2 separate regions of the Homo sapiens genome follow, and region 1 is linked to region 2. Evidence: promoter capture Hi-C in human tissues and cell types (Jung and others, 2019). All regions are on one chromosome and are shown on one strand. The core of a region is centred on a gene start or on the middle of the fragment in contact, and the rest is flanking DNA. Distances in the headings are between cores, read along the strand shown.

What was found. The method cuts DNA at HindIII sites, captures the fragments that hold promoters and counts their contacts. A contact is called where the count stands out against the background at its distance.
Region 1: a fragment that was not itself captured here is called in contact with the fragment with the promoter of DHX8 in region 2 in 1 of the 25 tissues and cell types used here (bladder).

Annotation. Positions count from the first base shown.
Region 1 is chr17:43,343,533-43,347,174 of GRCh38, reverse strand. No RefSeq gene overlaps it. Among named protein-coding and RNA genes, the nearest start is that of LINC00910, 44 kb to the left of the region's middle. The HindIII fragment of the contact is 8,528 bases long and covers 1-3,642 here.
Region 2 is chr17:43,482,120-43,485,606 of GRCh38, reverse strand. DHX8 (DEAH-box helicase 8) reads right to left here and starts at 1,632. Exons shown (of 23, transcript NM_004941.3): 1 at 1,422-1,632. The coding sequence starts at 1,569. RefSeq lists enhancers at 1,368-1,797, 1,097-1,939. The HindIII fragment of the contact is 21,666 bases long and covers 1-3,487 here.

The DNA.
Region 1 (3,642 bases), core at 607-3,106, 140 kb after region 2:
GATCAACAGCCTGATAATCAAGCCCCTCAGCCGGACAATCAGGCTGCTCAGGGAAATAATCAGGCTCCACAACTGCCTTCCGCTGGGGCACAGCCAGTACCTGGTATTCCAGCAGTTCAGACAGTAGTTCAACCTGACCCCATACTTCTAGCTCAGGTTCAGCTACGCCCTGCTCCTTGGGAAAGTTTTTCTAAATTCCTCAAAGATTTCAAGGAATCAGTAAAACAATACAGCATCAACTCTCCTTTTGTCCGTTCCACATTAAAAGCCCTAGCAGAAGATAAATAAACGTTTGGTGCCCTATGACTGGGAGATTTTAGCAAAGTCAGTCTTATCTATTTTTTTTTATTTTTATAAGTTTTTATTTAAAAGATTCCCTTTTTAATCTGTTCCAAAGTGTTGGAAGCTGAACTATACAAGTTCCTGCCACCCATCCTTCCAGTACAGTTTTATGAGGACATACTTTTTAAATGGAAAAATAACAGGAGGACCCTCTAACTGAAACCAGGTAGGCCCAGAGTGAGCTCCTCAGGCCCCTGTGGCAGCCTGGCCAAAGCTGGCCTTTATGGAGCCAGTGCGTGGAGAAGTCTGGGGAACCGGGGCCCTCCCTCTTGTGAGGAAAGGGTTGAGCAAACTCATGTTCTCTTTAGTGAAATGGTCCAAATTCAGATCCAAAAACCTCCATTATGGCATTCCCTGGCACTCTTCTTATACTTTATACATTGAAGGCAGCTCCCTCTTTTATGGCCAGTATAAGCAGGCAAAGAAACAAAGGAATATAGATACATATATGTGTATATATATATATTTTATATAGGTAAAATATATACATATTTTATATATGTATATATACATATTTGGGGGTAGGGAAAGGAGAGGAGGGTCATGTAAACCTAAACAGTCATCACATTACCCCAAATGAGCCTGACTTTGACAAAAAGATAATAAATAACTCCTGGGGGTTAAGTGACAACATGGGTGCAGCAAGAAGGGAAAGGGCACAAATTTAACTATTAAATACACTTTGATATTTGTTTGGCAGAGTTCAGGCCAACCCCAGGCTTCTGCCCTTGCCAGACAAGTAAGCTGATGATATTCAAAGAAAAAAATAAAAATATTAAAAAAAAAAAAATTCAAGCAGAGCTCCATACCACAGTTTTCCTTCAAGTCAGTTGGCCGGCAGGCAGTTTCCCGACCACCAGGAACAGAAACTTTGGCTCCAAGGCAAATGAAACAAACAAACAAAAAAAAGTATTTCCACTTACAACATGAAAATACAGAAACTTCATCAAAGAAAGAAAACTATCAAAGAAGTCTACTTCCAGCAAAACTGAGGTAGCACTGCTTTCTCCGCATTCAATGCTTAAGTGGTTCTCAGTACAACGTGTTCTTAAAAAATGCTCACTTGACTGAAAGTCAGTCTTATCTAAATCCCAATATTTACAATTCAGGACTTGGTGGGTTGATGCTGTCCAGGAACACATTCATCTTAATCAGGGCTCCAATCCTCCTGTTAACGTTACAGCTGACCAGTTACTGGGAATGGGTCAGTGGGCTACAATTAGAAACCAAACTATAGTAAATGATGTGGTTATTGAACAACTGTGGAAATGTTGCTTAGATGCTTGGGAAAAGATTCAAGATGATGGCAAAGTATGCCCATCGTTTGCGGCAGTCAGACAGGGACAACATGAACCCTACCCAGACTTTATTGCCCATCTCCAAGACGCAGCAGAAAAAGCTATCCCTGAGCCACGGCCATTGACTTGTTGTAGAACTCATGGCTTATGAACAAGCAAATCCAGATTGTCAGGTGGCTATTCGCCCTGTTAAAGGTAAAATTCCATGGGTGTGTGTGTGTGTGTGTGTGATATACTCACCTCCTACATTAAAGCCTGTGAAGGTGTGGGAGGAACTCTGCACACAGCAATGATCATGGCACAAGCCATGGCCTCTATTCGAACGCCTGGACAATTCACTGGCCAATGCTTTATATGCGGCCAGACAGGACATGCTAAAAGAAATTGTCCCCAGTGTACATGTTGCCATTCTTTTCAACCCCACCACCACCAACAACAAAAAATTTTTCAACAACAGAAAGTCCCACCTTCTACTTTATGCCCACGATGCCAAAAGATAAATCACTGAGCTGCTCAATGCCATTCGAGATTTGATATTGATGGTAATCCTTTACAGTCGCTTAACAACCAGGGAAATGGAACGAGGGGCTGGCCCCAGGCCCCTCTAAACAATGGCGCATTCCTCAACTCCCAGCCCCTGGCATCCAGCCAGATGGGTGCCTTCCCAGTCCAATCGATTCAACCTCCACCCCAATTCCCACTTCAGCAATTTGTGCCACAGGATCTAATGGCCCAGCCCCAGCAGGAATCTCAGTACAGTGTTTGTCTCCTGCCACTGCAGGCTCAGCAGCAATAGATCTCTCTTGTACCAGAGACATTTCTCTGTTGCTTGGATAGCTGCCTATTGCTGTTCCTAGAGGTGTTTTTGGTCCCTTACTGACTGGCAGTGTCAGTTTGCTACTTGGTCATTCAAGTCTAAATTTAAAAGGTGCTCAAGTACATACTGGTGTAATTGATTCTGACTATTCAGGTGAAATTCATATTGTCATTAGCTCTGCAGTCCCTTGGAATGTGGCAGCTGGGGACGGCATTGCTCAACTTCTGATACTCCCTTACATTCCTTTAGGATCCAGTTCTTGTATGAGAAACAGAGATTTTGGTAGCACAGATTATCAAGGCAAAGTGGCTTATTGGGCCAGCAAAATTTCTGACACTCATCCTGTGTGCTCTGTGCATATTCAAGGGAGGAAGTTTGAGGGAATGATTGATACGGGTGCTGATGTTTCTATTATTGCTTTACATCAATGGCCCCAACACTGGCTAAAGGAGCATATGTCCACAGCATTAGTTGGTGTTGGTGACGCTTCAGAAGTATATGCAAGCTCCACAATTTTACATTGCATGGGCCCTGAAGGACAAATGGGAACTATCTGCCCCCTCATTACACCCATTCCTGTTAACCTGTGGGGAAAAGATCTTTTATATCAATGGGGGACATAGATTTCTTTTCCACAAGGCAGTTACAGCCAGCAAAGTAAAGACATTATGACAAAAATGGGATTTGTTCAAGATATGGGCTTGGGAAAATCAGCACAAGGCATCACCGAGCCTATTATACCTACCCATAAACCAGATTCTACAGGACTTGGTTATTCTTTTTAGAAGTGGTCACTATCAAGTCTCCAGATCCCATCCCTTTGACTTGGAAAACTCAGAAACTGGTTTGGGTAGATCAGTGGCTGCTCCCAAAAAATAAGCTGGAGGCACTTCATATTTTGGTTCTTGAACAGTTAAAATTGGGTCAAACCCTCTTTTTCTCCCTGGAATTCACCTGCCTTTGTTATCCAAAAGAGGTCTGGTAAGTGGAGAATGCTTACTGATCTTAGGGCAGCAAATGCTGTCCTTCAACCTATGGGGACATTACAGCCTGGTTTGCCCTCCCCCACTATGATTCCCAAGTATTGGCCACTTATCATCATTGACCTTAAAGATTGCTTGTTTTACATTCCTCTGGCCCCTCAGGACTTTGAAAAATTTGCTTTCACAGTTCCAACCCTTAACA
Region 2 (3,487 bases), core at 383-2,882:
GCCCCCAGCTCAATATTTGCTGAATAAAGGAAACATATTAACGAGATAGCAAAACCGACGAAATTATCACCTCATTATCAACTAAAAGAGAAGAATCCTGCGGGAAAAGTTATATAGGACAGACACATCTTGGCTGGGAGGCAAGAGAAAAAAGTAAACTAAAATATACTGGCTGCAGGGCATCTTCCTAAATGCTATATGGTGACCCTGTGAAGACATCGTCCCACTTCACAGATGAGAAAAACAGCTTCAGAGAAACTATGAATCTTACCAAAGGTCACTCGTCTAACTTCCCTAACCCCTCCTGTCACCTGCCCCTTCCCTTCCATCCCTCCGGTTGATGACTTTATCTTCATTTAGGAAACTGAAGAGTGGGCTGGAACTCTCTCACTCATCTTCCCACCACCAATCTCTAAACTCATCTGAATCTGCAACTGTATTCTCTGTCCTCGCTCCTGTTACAACTGAAGAAGCCTTGCTGTACGTACCAAAGGTCAATCCATCCATTGGTTGCCCTTGATCCCATCCATCCTCTGTACCTTCATAAAGGCTCCATCTGTCTATGGCTTTAGCTTTAGGACCCTAGCCTTTTCTAATTCCTCAGTTTCGGCTCCCCAGATGTAGTTTGCCCCAAAACATCTAGTGACTGGTGTTTAAGACATAGTACAGGACGCAATGGCTCACGCCTGTAATCCCAACACTTTGGGAGGCCGAGGGAAGAGGACTGCTTGAGCCCAGAAGTTCGAGACCAGCCTGGGCAATACAGTGAGACCCCCGTCTCTACAAAAAATTTAAAAATGAGTCGAGCTTGGTGGCGCCCGCCTGTAGTCCCAGCTACTCGGGAGGCTGAGGTGGGAGGACTGCTTGAGCCCAGGAGGTGGAGGCTGCAGTGAGCCGAGATCGTGCCACTGCACTCCAGCCCGGGAAACAGAGCGAGGCCCTGCCTCAAAAAAGAGTACAGGATGAACGGTCAAAGAACACAGTTAAAAGCACAGACGCTAACTACTATGTCACAGAGTGGCGTGAAGACCAAATAAAATAATGTCAATAAAGAGCTGAGCATCGCATCTAGCACATAGTGAGCACCCAATAAACGTCAGCCATCATCGTCGTCATCGCAGCATCTGCTGCTGTTGTTGTTAAACATGTTTAATTGAGGCTGAAAAAACAAACAAAAAACAATCAAGCAGAGATGACCGCCCCGGGCTTCACTGACAGCTCTGGGAAAGTTTCTAAAGTTTCTCGAGGGCTCTCAAGCCGAGGCCACGGCAGCGTGTACCCTGGGCACCGGTGTCTGCGACAGAGAGAGACAGATTCACACGAACATACTTTCGGTCCATCAACCACCTTTCTCCTTCCTCCTTCCTCCTTCCGCTTCCCTCAATCCCAAACTGAGGTCCCAGGGACCTCCCCGAGCTCACCAAGGTCCTTGTCGTTGATCCCCAAGTGATTGTCCAGCTCAGTGCAAACCTTTGACACCAAAGACAGGTACTCGAGTTTGGCAAGTTCTTCCGCGGGGCCTGGCTCCGACCCGATTAAGGCTCCCGCCATGGCTACAGCCACAGCCATGGCTATAGCTTGCCCAGAACCTCCTTCCTCACAGCCGGCGCTCAGAGCTACTCCGGCCGGGTTCCAGCTTTCACTTCCGGGTCAGCGCGCGTCCCCTTTGTTTACGGTAAATTGAAAATTTGAGGAACGAATCAAGTCCCAACAGGATGGATCATAGAGATCAAACAGGAAGTGCTTAAGGAAGGGACAACTAGAGTGGGTTACTCTGCACGCCGATCTGCGCCCTCTACAGGCGAGAAAAATCTCCGCCCGCCCTCAGGCCTGGAAACGTTCACTCAGCGCGCTCCCGCCCTGGGTCGGCAGAGGGCGACCCCGGCCTGCACAAGAGGCGCCGGGAGGCAACCGCAAAACAGCCTGCGCCTGCGCTTTAGAACACTTGAAAAAGGAATCTTAATGCACGTCTGGAAAAAGACAAACTTGCTTTACTGTGGATCCGCAAATTCCCGGCCTCACTTCTTTGTGGTTCCTGTCGTCCGATCTCAAGTGACCCTTGACAAGCCAGTAGGCAGTAGATTGCCTTCTCTTGTTTTACACACGAAGAAACTGGCACTTCCACTGCCAGCTGGCTGCTTGGGCAAATCAATCTCTGGGGCCTTAGTTTTCTCATCTGTAAACTAGAATAATGTTGCTCTACCCTAAATGGAATAACTGCAAGGAGTGTGACACAGAGTAGGCACACCGCAAATGACAGTTACTGTTAATATCACAAGGCTAGGCCGGGTGCAGTGGCTCACGCCTGTAATGCCAGCACTTTGGGAGGCCGAGGCTGGTGGATCACTTGAGGTCAGGAGTTCCAGACCAGCCTGGCCAACGTGGCGAAACTCCATCTCTACTAAAAATAGAAAACTTAGCCGGGCGTGGTGGTGGTGGGCGCCTGTAGTCCCAGCTACTCGGGAGGCTGAGGCACAAGAATCGCTTGAACCCAGGAGGCAGAGGTTGGAGTGACCTGAGTTCACACCACTACACTCCAGCATGGGCGACAGAGTGAGACTTTGTCTCAAAAAAAAAAAAAAAAAAATTCAAGGCTGAGATGATGGTCACAGAACTGGCCTCTGGTCTGTCAAGCACAGATCCCCTTAGTCTGGGAACCCACAGAGCCAGCTGCCTCCACTCTTGTGAAAACCTGCTTTTCAATCCCCAGTTTTCCTGTGTCCTCTCAGAACTTATTCCCCCAGGGGCTGGGCACTGTGGCTCACCCCTGTAATCCCAGCACTTTGGGAGGCCGAGACGGGCGGATCACTTGAGGTCAGGAGTTCAAGACCACTCTGGCCAACATGGTGAAACCTCGTCTGTACTAAAAATACAAAAATTAGCTGGGCGTGATGGTATGTGCCTGTAGTCCCAGCTACTAGGGAGGCTGAGGCGGGAGAATTGCTTGAACCTGGGAGGTGGATGTTGCAGTGAGCTGAGATCTCGCCACTGCACTCTAGCCTGTGCGACAGAGTGAGACTCCGTCTCAAACAAACAAAACACACACACAAAAACAACAACAAACCTTATTCCCCCAAATATCAGCTGTGCTGTAAGTCCAAGGTCATAAGCTCAGGTCTCCCAACTTCTGCTTCAGGTCTTTTTTACCTTTGTGGCAACCTTAATGTGGGATGGGGATTTTTCCCACACTCCAGTGCTCTGTGTGATGAGTAAGGAAACAGAAGCACCCTAAAGTGAATGGCTCTCCAATCAATCGGAAGGAGGAAATCAGTCTCCCACTTTTCACTTTGGCAACATTTTTACACTGGTGTACCTTTGGACTCTGTTTCTTCAACATCTCATCATGGACTGAAAAATGACAGGCAGAGAAAAACCCAGCCATTGTTCTCACTGTCTCCAGAAGCTCCAGGTTTCCAGGTTCCTAAGGAATCACTACTAAACCCTCTGAGTTCTTCCTACCCCTCCCCATTTCGCTTCCTCTTTCTCC